3 separate regions of the Homo sapiens genome follow, and regions 2 and 3 are each linked to region 1. Evidence: promoter capture Hi-C in human tissues and cell types (Jung and others, 2019). All regions are on one chromosome and are shown on one strand. Each heading gives the region's core, a stretch centred on a gene start or on the middle of the fragment in contact. The rest is flanking DNA. Distances are from core to core; before and after follow the strand shown.

Region 1 (3,939 bases), core at 1,407-3,906:
GTCTCAAAAAAAAAAAAAAAAAAAAAAGAAAGAAAAAAGAAAAATGCTTTGCTATATAACGAAGCCAGGCAGGAAAAAAAAGTCCATATAGATAAACATTTGCAAAGCTGCTACTGCCATTGTACAGTGTTAAAATGTGTTCTACCTTGCATCTTTAAATAAAGATTAATAAAAGTTTTGGTTTTTCCCTTTTTAACCTTTTTTTTTAACTAGAAATAATAATACCTATAGAAAAGTATATATTGGCCGGGCGCAGTGGCTCACGCCTGTAATCCCAGCACTTTGGGAGCCCAAGGCAGGTGGATCATGAGGTCAGAAGATCAAGACCATCCTGGCTAACACGGTGAAACCTGGTCTCTACTAAAAATACAAAAAATTAGCCGGGCGTGGTGGCAGGCGCCTGTAGTCCCAGCTACTTGGGAGGCTGAGGCAGGAGAATGGCATGAACCCGGGAGGCAGAGCTTGCAGGGAGCTGAGATCACGCCACTGCACTCCAGCCTGGGCAACAGAGTGAGACTCTGTCTCAAAAAAACAAAAAAGTATATAGTAAGTATAGAAAATATATGAATTAAAAAATCAATGCCGAGCGTGATGGCTCAAACCTATAATCCCAGCACTTTGGGAGGCCGGGGTGGGCAGATCACCTGGGGTTGGAAGTTCGAGACCAGCCTGGCTAACGTGGGGAAACCCCATCTCTACTAAAAATACAAGTTTAGGTGGGCGTGGTGGTACGTGCTTGTAATCCCAGCTACTTGGGAGGCTGAGGCAGAAGAATTGCTTGAGGAGACGGAGACAGGGAATAGGAGATGGAGGTTGCCGTGATCCCAGATAGCACCACTGCACTTCAGCCTGGGTGACAGAGTGAGACTCTGTCTCACAAAAAAAAAAAAAAAAAATTTTAGGCCGGAGGCGAGGTGTGGTGGCTGACACCTGTAATCCCAGCACTTTGGGAGGCCGAGGTGGGTGGATGATGTGAGGTCGGGAGTTCGAGACCAGCCTGGCCAACATGGTGAAACACCATCTCTACTAAAAATACAAAAATTAGCCGCCCATGGTGGTGCACCTGTAATCCCAGCTCCTTGGGAGGCTGAGGCAGTAGAATCACTTGAACCTGGGAGGTGGAGTTTGCAGTGAGCTTAGATTGCACCACTGTACTCCACTCTGGGCAACAGAGCAAGACTCTGTCTCAAAATATATATAATATATATTATTATGTATATATATAATATATATTATTATGTATATGTGTAATATATATTATTATGTATATATATAATATATATATTATATCATAATCCCTTCCCTCACTAAGTAATCACTGACCTACTTGGTACAATAAATATTTCCTTGCTTTTAGTAAGAACACACCCCTAAATGCAATGGTTTATTTTGCTTGCTTTTGAACTCTATAGAAATAAAATCAGGCCTGGCGCAGTGGCTCTCGCCTGTAATCCCACCACTTTGGGAGGCCGAGGCGGGCAGATCATGAGATCAGGAGATTGAGACTATCCTGGCCAACATGGTGAAATCCTGTCTCTATTAAAAATACAAAAGTTAGCTGGGTGTGGTCTCACGCACCTGTAATCCCAGCTACTTGGGAGGCTGAGGCAAGAGAATCACTTGCACCGGGGAGCCGGAGGTTGCAGTGAGTCGAGATCGCGCCACTGAACTCTAGCCTGGCCACAGAGCAAGACTGCATCTCCAAAAAAAAAAAAAAAAAAAAAAAAAAATAGAATTATAGGGTATATACACTTTTGTTTCTGATTTCTTTCAATCAACATTTATTTTAAAGATTCAGTCATGTTATTGTATAGTGCTATAGATAATTTTTTTAGATTCAAAGATTTTTATTTTTTACAAAACCCCAGAATAATAAACGTTATAATTATACATTTAAATCTGGTTGTAAGTTTTATCCTGGCAGCTATTTGTCAATATGCCTTCTAGTTAGAGAGGTTCTGCAAGTTATAATTTACATACAAAGATATTTCGCAATTTTTTTTTTTTTTGAGACGGAGTCTCACTCTGTCGCCCAGGCTGGAGTGCAGCGGGGTGATCTCGGCTCACTGCAACCTCCACCTCCTGGTTCGAGCAATTCTCCTGCCTCAGCCTCCTGAGCAGCTGGAACTACAGGTATGCGCCACCACGCCTAATTTTTGCTTTTTTTTTTTTTTTTTTTTTTTTTTTTAGACGGTTTTCGCTCTTGTTGCCCAGGCTGGAGTGCAATGGTGTGATCTCGGTTCACTGCAACTTCCGCCTCCCGGGTTCAAGCGATTGTCCTGCCTCAGCCTCCCGAGTAGCTGGGATTACAGGCGCCCGCCACCACGCCCGGCTAATTTTCGTATTTTTAGTAGAGATGGGGTTTCACCATGTTGGCCAGCCTGGTCTCGAACTCCTGACTTCAGGTGATCCGCCCGCCTTGGCCTCCCAAAGTGCTAGGATTACAGGCGTGAGCCACCGCAGTAGTCCCAGTTTTGTTTTGTTTTTTTGTTTTTTGTTTTTGATATCTCAATTCCTACAGTTGAGGAAACAAACTAGGAGAGGAGAAGAGGAGGCGGAACTCAAGTGACGGGAAAGCAGGAACTGAAGAAGCGGAGGAAGGATTTCAAAATTGGACGAAAGCCGGTCGGTTTTACTAACGGACCGGAAGGACTCTAGAGAACGCTCTGCACTATGGCTGGTCCCGTGAGCTTGCGAGACCTTCTAATGGGAGCATCAGCCTGGATGGGCTCTGAAAGTCCCGGAGGGTCCCCTACTGAGGGCGGAGGGAGCGCGGCTGGCGGACCGGAGCCTCCATGGCGGGAGGATGAGATCTGCGTTGTGGGAATCTTCGGCAAGACGGCTCTACGCCTGAATTCCGAGAAGTTCTCTCTTGTGAATACGGTGTGCGACCGACAGGTCTTTCCTCTCTTTCGCCACCAAGATCCTGGGGATCCAGGACCTGGAATCAGAACTGAGGCTGGCGCCGTGGGTGAGGCCGGTGGAGCCGAGGACCCTGGGGCTGCAGCCGGGGGTTCAGTTCGGGGAAGTGGAGCTGTCGCGGAAGGTAACCGAACTGAGGCAGGCTCCCAGGACTACAGCCTTCTGCAGGCCTACTACAGTCAGGAAAGCAAAGTTCTGTATCTTCTCCTCACCTCCATCTGTGACAATTCACAGCTTCTCCGGGCTTGTCGGGCTCTTCAGAGCGGGGAAGCTGGAGGTGGACTCTCTTTACCTCATGCAGAAGCACACGAGTTCTGGAAGCATCAAGAGAAGCTGCAGTGCCTCAGTCTCCTTTACCTATTCTCTGTCTGTCATATCTTGCTTCTGGTCCATCCCACTTGTTCCTTTGATATCACTTATGATCGAGTATTCAGAGCCCTGGATGGGCTGAGACAGAAGGTCCTGCCGCTCCTTAAAACAGCCATTAAGGATTGTCCAGTTGGCAAAGACTGGAAGCTAAACTGCCGACCTTGCCCACCTAGACTCCTTTTCCTCTTTCAACTCAATGGAGCCCTCAAGGTAGAACCTCCTCGGAACCAAGACCCAGCTCATCCAGACAAGCCCAAGAAACATTCTCCCAAAAGGAGGCTGCAGCATGCCCTGGAGGACCAGATCTATAGAATCTTCCGGAAGAGTCGTGTCTTGACTAATCAGAGCATCAACTGCCTCTTTACTGTGCCTGCCAACCAAGCTTTCGTGTACATAGTACCGGGAAGCCAGGAGGAGGACCCAGTAGGTATGTTGCTGGACCAACTTAGGAGTCATTGTACTGTGAAGGACCCGGAATCTTTGCTGGTGCCTGCACCCCTTTCTGGGCCTAGGCGATACCAGGTGATGAGGCAGCACAGCCGACAACAACTTTCCTTTCACATTGACAGCAGCAGTTCCAGTTCTTCAGGCCAGCTAGTGGATTTCACTCTTCGGGAATTCCTATGGCAGCATGTGGAGCTAGTTCTA
Region 2 (3,905 bases), core at 212-2,711, 290 kb after region 1:
AAACTTCTATAATCTTATTTGGCCACCACACCAAACGAACTATGGAGCCTTTTGATGATATACGTAGTATCCTCACAAAACACATGGGACCAGTATTTGGCAAATTTGATTTCTAGGTTCTGTCAAACCAGTTGCAGAGATATAGCTAGAATTTTTTTTCTCAGTTAAAAATGCTTTAAGTCTTTGAGTTCTGGTTTTCATCCTCCTCTGAATAGTTGCTGTGTGAGGATGTCCATATCTGACTCATTTTACTCTACAAATACAGAATTGCACCCAGGTGTATTTTAGGGATATTGGTCACCCTGAAGTTTTCATAGGTTTTATAGATATATGCTGGTAAGGTGGGAGGGCGGGTGAATAAGAAGTAAAATACAAGTCTTCCTGAAAGCTGATAATGCAGCATTGGGGTAGATCCCTCATTTTCTTTCTTTATTATTATTATTTTTTTTGAGACAGAGTCTCACTCTGTCACCCAGGCTGGAGTGCAGTGGCACGATCTCTGCTCACTGCAAGCTCCGCCTCCCAGGTTCATGCCATTCTCCTGCCTCAGCCTCCCGAGTAGCTGGGACTACAAGCACACAGCACCACACCCAGCTAATTTTATATTTTTAGTAGAGATGGTGTTTCACCATGTTGGCCAGGCTGGTCTCAAACTTCTGGGCTCAAGTGATCCACCTGCCTCAGCCTCCCAAAGTGCTGGGATTACAGATTTGAGCCACCATGCCCAGTCTCTCTCTCTTTTTTTTTTTTTTTTTAATAGATATAGGGTTTCACCATGTTACCCAGGTTGGTCTCAAACTCCTGGACTCAAGTGATCCACCTGCCTCAGCCTCCCAAAGTGCTGGGATTACAGGTGTGACCACTGTTCCCAGCCAAAAATCATTTCATCTTTATAACTCTAGCAGTGGGATCTGGGGCCAAGTTATATGGCTGAGTGGCATCACAATATCAATATATGATTCGTCTTTTAAAGTTTTTGTTTTAGAATATGACTTGAGAGCTGGACAGCCATACCGAATATTTCCACTGGAGCAGAGAGGACTGAGAGGCCGCTGCCCAATTTATTGTATCTGTGTTGAGTGCTAGATCTACGAATGGAACTCCATACTAGCAAACAGCAACCTCATTTCCAGTTCATTTTTCTCCTTGCTTGAGGTGTTCTAAATATTGGAAGAATCATCTATTCTAAATCAGAATGCCCCTGCTTTGTCTACTCTGTGTTTTTTTTTTAACAAGAAGCCATATTTATTGTGTTTATTGATTTATTGATGCTTAGAAAATAAGAGAATGTTGGTTTAGGGCGGGCTGAAATTTATCTTTTTGCTATGTAGAAAAGAGGCAAGTTGCTCTAATCCTTTAAGCACAGAAGCTTATAAGGAGAATTCAAATTCATGTCTGGTTTGCCTGTATTCAGAGATTCTACAGAGACAAAATTCTCTCCTAAAAGGAACTGTATACCGGCCAGCCACGGTGGCTCACGCCCGTAGTCCCAGTACTTTGGGAGGCCAAGATGGGTGGATCACTTGAGGCCAGGAGTTCGAGACCAGCCTGGACAACATGGTGAAACCCCATCTGTACTAAAAATACAAAAATTAGCTTGGCTTGGTGGCATGTGCCTGTAATCCCAGCTACTTGGGAGGCTGAGGCACGAGAATCGCTTGAACCCGAGAGGCAGGAGTTGCAGTGAGCTGAGATCACACCACTGCACTCCAGCCCGGCCAACAGAGCTAGACTGTCTCAAAAAAAAAAAAAGGAACTATATACCACCTGGCATATATCTGAAGAGAAGCAGGGTGGAGGGCAAAGTAAAATATAAGTTCAGTGGAAAAATACTTGGAAAGCCACTTGGTAACAATAAAGATATTAATTAAATCACCCAGGGCCTTATGCCATAATGATATGCACCAGGTGTTTCTGCTTCCACTTAATTAACTCAGCATAATTCCTCTTTTAGAAAACGACACATACTGTTGGGGTATATCCAGCCGAAACACACATCAGCACAAAGCTTTTAAAATGTGGTTCTTTTCAATGTACATATTAGAATGGCCTCATTTCTTTCACTATGTGTGTACTGACCTTAGTGGGTCACCTACATTAAAGGATGTGGTAGAAATAAGGCAATCCCACATTTACAGACAAGAAAACAAACAATAATGTAGTTTTATGGAAACTAAGCTTCAGAAATGCAAGGCATTCACTGGTTTCACTCAGAAACCTCTCAGATGTGGGAGAAATATGTGTGAGATTTGGACTTTCATTTATCCAAATATGAGGAATTTTTCTGCTAGAGTCAACTGGCTGATAATGGATGGAAAGGATTAGTGCAGGTCCTACTTGGCAGCCTTCTCGGTAGAAACCCATATGCTCTCTGACATTGATTATAATTATTTTTCCATCATTCCCAGGTTACATTCTTAGCAGGAATGTGAGCCAACTCTCTCCCTAGGAAGGCTCCTGCTGTGAAACCATCTTTGGCAATGAATCTTTAACAAAAGATCAAGAACTTGACATTTATTTTTAAGCACGAGAAGAAAATGTGTGCAATGTTGGAAGCAAGGACAGGGATAGGAAGAGCTTCTAAACAGTTGCAGGCAGGGGCAGTGGAACAGAAATAAATATTACATAAGTGACATGTTGGTGACTTTACTTTTGTGAAATAGCAACTAATGACTAGGTATGGAATATATGGATTATATGATGTTAAGGTTTAACGTCTTTTTAAAGTAGAAGGGTGCTCCCTCTCCCTCTCCCCATGGTCTCCCTCTCCCCATGGTCTCCCTCTCATGCCGAGCCGAGGCTGGACGATACTGCTGCCATCTCGGCTCACTGCAACCTCCCTGCCTGATTCTCCTGCCTCAGCCTGCGGAGTGCCTGCAATTGCAGGCACGCGCCGCCACGCCTGACTGGTTTTCGTATTTATTTGGTGGAGACGGGGTTTCGCTGTGTTGGCCGGGCTGGTCTCCAGCTCCTAACCGCGAGTGATCCGCCAGCCTCGGCCTCCCGAGGTGCCGGGATTGCAGACCGAGTCTGGTTCACTCAGTGCTCAATGGCGCCCAGGCTGGAGTGCAGTGGCGTGATCTCGGCTCGCTACAACCTCCACCTCCCATCCGCCTGCCTTGGCCTCCCGAAGTGCCGAGATTGCAGCCTCTGCCCGGCCGCCACCCCGTCTGGGAAGTGAGGAGCCTCTCTGCCTGGCCGCCCATCGTCTGGGATGTGAGGAGCCCCTCTGCCTGGCTGCCCAGTCTGAAAAGTGAGGAGCGTCTCTGCCCGGCCGCCATCCCATCTGGGAAGTGAGGAGCGCCTCTTCCCGGCCGCCATCACATCTAGGAAGTGAGGAGCGTCTCTGCCCGGCCGCCCATCGTCTGGGATGTGGGGAGCGCCTCTGCCCCGCCGCCCTGTCTGGGATGTGAGGAGCCCCTCTGCCTGGCTGCCCAGTCTGGAAAGTGAGGAGCGTCTCTGCCTGGCCGCCATCCCATCTAGGAAGTGAGGATCGTCTCTGCCCGGCCGCCCATCGTCTGAGATGTGGGGAGCGCCTCTGCCCCGCCGCCCCGTCTGGGATGTGAGGAGCACCACTGCCCAGCTGCGACCCCGTCTGGGAGGTGAGGAGCGTCTCTGCCCGGCCGCCACCCCGTCTGGGAGGTGAGGAGCGTCTCTGCCCGGCCGCCCCGTCTGAGAAGTGAGAAGACCCTCCGCCCGGCAGCCGCCCCGTATGAGAAGTGAGGAGCCTCTCCGCCCGGCAGCCACCCCGTCCGGGAGGGAGATGGGGGGGGGTCAGCCCCCGCCAGGCCAGCCGCCCTGTCCGGGAGGGAGGTGGGGGGGTCAGCCCCCCGCCCGGCCAGCCGCCCCATCCGGGAGGTGAGGGTTGCCTCTGCCTGGCCGCCCCTACTGGGAAGTGAGGAGCC
Region 3 (3,471 bases), core at 467-2,966, 400 kb after region 1:
GGATGGTCGTGGAAGCCCAGTTCACATTCATCCTTCCTCAGCAGTAAGTACTTCATTTTTAATAAAGGGAAGAAATTTGTAAAGTTGTAGAAATAAGTAATATACAAATGTCTTCTACTTTTCACTTTGGAGTTAAATTTACATATATCTATATTACATAGATCTATAAGGGTATTGGTTGGCCTGTGCCTCCTGTTTGAAGAAGATAGGAATTAATTGAGAAGGATTTGGACTATTTGGTTGGTTTAATGTGGAATAGGGCAGGTTATTGAGTTACCATCATTAAAAGAAATGTTTTGTATAGCTTCATGAACAGGAAACCAAACTTGAATGGATCATTTTTCATGAGGTATTGGTTACCACCAAAGTCTACGCAAGAATTGTATGCCCAATCCGTTATGAATGGGTAAGAGACTTGTTACCCAAGTTGCATGAATTTAATGCACATGATTTGAGCAGTGTGGCCCGACGTGAAGTGAGAGAAGATGCAAGAAGGAGATGGACAAATAAGGAAAATGTAAAGCAGCTAAAGGGTGAGTAAATCATTTGTTCTACTCTTAACCACTATGCCATACTGCTTCCCAGTAGTACTTCACTATTTTTGTTTATAAAAATGTTGTGACCCACCTGGGCAATGTGGTGAGATCCCATCTCTAGCAAAATAAAAATAAAAATTAGCCAGGCATGTTGGTGTGCACCTGTAGTCCCAGTGACTTGGGAGGCTGATGCAGGAGGATCGCTTGAACCCAGGAGTTTGAGGCTGCAGTGAACTGTGATTTCACCAGTGCACTCCAGCCTGGGGGTGACAGAGTGAGACACTATCTCTAAAAAAAAAAAAGTGATGATTTATGCATTATTAACTCAGAATCCCCTTTGTTTCCAAGGGGCTTTTTCTTTCTTTCTTTCTTTTTCTTTCTTCTTTGAGACGGAGTTTTGCTCTTATTGCCCAGGCTGGAGTGTAATGGTGTGATTTTGGCTCACTGCAGCCTCTGCCTCCCGGTTCAAGCTATTCTCCTGCCTCAGCCTCCTGAGTAGCTGGATTACAGGCATGCACCACCACGCCTGGCTAAGTTTGTATATCCAAGGGGCTTTTTCTATGAAATAATTAGGACCCTGGTTGGGAGGCATAAATAGTTGTGGTACTGAAATAGGACAGAAAGTTTTTCAGCTCACATACACAGAAAACTTCTTAGTAAAGCTTTTTGAGGCTGAATGATGAAGCATATTGTATTTTCTTTATTTGACATCACTGCAAAATGGAATGGTGAAGAGTTTTGCCGAATAAATCATAGAAAAATCTTTAGAAATGTTAGCCACTAGGGAGGCCAGGCATGGTGGCTCACGCCTGTAATCCCAGCACTTTGGGAGACCAAGGCGGGCGGATCACGAGGTCAGGAGATCGAGACCATCCTGGCTAACACGGTGAAACCCCGTCTCTACTAAATATACAAAAAACTAGCTGGGTGTGGTGGCGGGCGCCTGTAGTCCCAGCTACTCGGGAGGCTGAGGCAGGAGAATGGCGTGAACCCAGGAGGCAGAGCTTGCAGTGAGCCGAGATTGCGCCACTGCACTCCAGCCTGGGCGACAGAGTGAGACTCCGTCTCAAAAAAAAAAAAAAAAAGAAAAGAAATCTTAGCCACTAGGTGTTCTATTACAGTGTAATAACACTGCCACATGCTTGAATTAGGGTCAGTTTTTCTGACTCATTGGCCTTGGTGCTCTTAATTTTGTAACCATAGACTACATTGCTTTTGAAAGGGCAAAATTTAATTTTTCTCTTTATTGTTTTTACTTTGTTAACACTGAAAAATCAGGGCTTCTCTTTCTCTTAACATTTCTAGTACTGAATCTCAAAGCTAAGTTTTATTGGATTAATTTGTAATGTTTTCAGATGGAATATCGAAAGACGTCTTAAAGAAAATGCAAAGAAGAAATGATGACAAATCCATATCTGATGCACGGGCTCGTTTCCTTGAGAGAAAGCAGCAGAGGACCCAGGACCACAGTGACACACGAAAGGAAACAGGCTAAGGTGGTGAACCCTCCAATTCAGGAAGTGGGAAAAGGAGCCAGGAAATGTGCTTCTACTTTGCCAGTTATTTCAGACAGCACTACCAAGAGGAGGTGGTCAGCACTTGTTATTGGCCTATGAACTAAAAGCAAATCAAAGCTCATAAATCAAAGCTCATCAGTTCCCATAAATGCAGTTGTCAAAGAAAAGATTTGGTTGCCATAGTCATAAGCAATGATACATGAAACCAATGAAAGACAGTACATGTAATAATATTTTCCTCAGTACAATTTTGCTGGCCTTAACTGGTATCAAACGCTGTCATTGAGATGTTTTCAAAGAACATTGAGTTGTATTTAATCAGCGTGTACTCCATTTGCATTGAAGCATTAAAAATTATTTTTCTTAAAATCTCTTTAAGGCCTTCTTGTTGCTGTTAGAATAGTGCTATATATCAGGTATGTGACCATTTATTTCAGAAGGCTGAACATAAGAGGTTTCTACTCAGCAATACTTAGATGTCTAACTGTTTAATTGCTACAGAGCTTTATAGATATTTAGAGAAAAGACTTAATCAATTAGTAAATAAAATTGCCTATGGCAGGATTCTTTCTTGAATTAATATTAATCCTTAAATTGATTTTTCTGGGATTATACAAATTCCTTTTTATATAAAAGTATATTGTTTAAAACAGTAGCTATAGCCATTAACCAAAGGACAGATGATATATATATATATGATATATATATATATATAAGTTCTTTTTTAGCTGTACCTACGTACTTATATCAGCACCATGTATGTAGGTGTGATAGTACTTTCAAACAGCGCCTCCACCTGGCCTACTCTGTTATTTCCACCTGTTTGGGTAGGGCCATTTAACTTCCATTATGCCAAACTTGGGATGGGATTTTCGAAGCAGACAACACTATTTCATCGTGTTTCAAATTGGAACCTTGAGGCTAGTTAGTATCACACTCAGGCCACACTCAGCACTTGCCCACTCTTGTTTACTGCCTTGTATTCTAGTTATTTGTGTATTTGTCTCCCTCACTAGATTATACGCTCCTTGTGGGCAGGGACTGTGTCTTTTTTCATCTTTGTATCTTTCATGCACCTAGCATAGTGCTTTGCACATAGTAGTCACTCAGTGTTTGTTAAATAAAGCTATTAGTGTCATTAAAATTCAAAAGACAGTATAATGTGTGTTTTTAGATATTTTGTGTAAAAATTAAGAATCTAAATTTTTTATCGGTAACTCTTCTAGTTATTTCCTTTGGAATCTAGTTTTATGTTCAATAATAGAAACTTGAAATCTTTATCAAAAATCACAAGGACCCAAATTCATGTATTTGTCCCTAAAGTAAGGTGAGTGATGATGGTTTCTCTAAACCTTTCCAGTGTTTTAATTTGTTAATTTTTTTTTTTTTTTTTTTGAGACGGAGTCTCACTTTGTCGC

Evidence for each region. The method cuts DNA at HindIII sites, captures the fragments that hold promoters and counts their contacts. A contact is called where the count stands out against the background at its distance.
Region 2: a fragment that was not itself captured here is called in contact with the fragment with the promoter of SMG8 in region 1 in 1 of the 25 tissues and cell types used here (dorsolateral prefrontal cortex).
Region 3: a contact is called between a fragment that was not itself captured here and the fragment with the promoter of SMG8 in region 1, in 1 of the 25 tissues and cell types used here (dorsolateral prefrontal cortex).

The regions. Positions count from the first base shown.
Region 1 is chr17:59,207,379-59,211,317 of GRCh38, forward strand. It overlaps SMG8 (SMG8 nonsense mediated mRNA decay factor), which reads left to right and starts at 2,657. Exons shown (of 4, transcript NM_018149.7): 1 at 2,657-3,939. The coding sequence starts at 2,674. RefSeq lists an enhancer at 2,466-2,535. The HindIII fragment of the contact is 6,268 bases long and covers 1-3,926 here.
Region 2 is chr17:59,496,711-59,500,615 of GRCh38, forward strand. All of the region lies in intron 2 of LINC01476 (long intergenic non-protein coding RNA 1476), which reads right to left. It overlaps LOC124904040 (a long non-coding RNA gene), which reads left to right. Exons shown (of 3, transcript XR_007065867.1): 3 at 2,409-2,732. LOC105371845 (a long non-coding RNA gene) reads left to right here and starts at 3,682. Exons shown (of 3, transcript XR_934887.2): 1 at 3,682-3,719. The HindIII fragment of the contact is 4,149 bases long and covers 1-3,536 here.
Region 3 is chr17:59,605,142-59,608,612 of GRCh38, forward strand. It overlaps DHX40 (DEAH-box helicase 40), which reads left to right. Exons shown (of 18, transcript NM_024612.5): 16 at 1-43; 17 at 305-533; 18 at 1,892-3,204. The coding sequence ends at 2,031. Among named protein-coding and RNA genes, the nearest start is that of CLTC, 13 kb to the right of the region's middle. The HindIII fragment of the contact is 7,902 bases long and covers 1-3,471 here.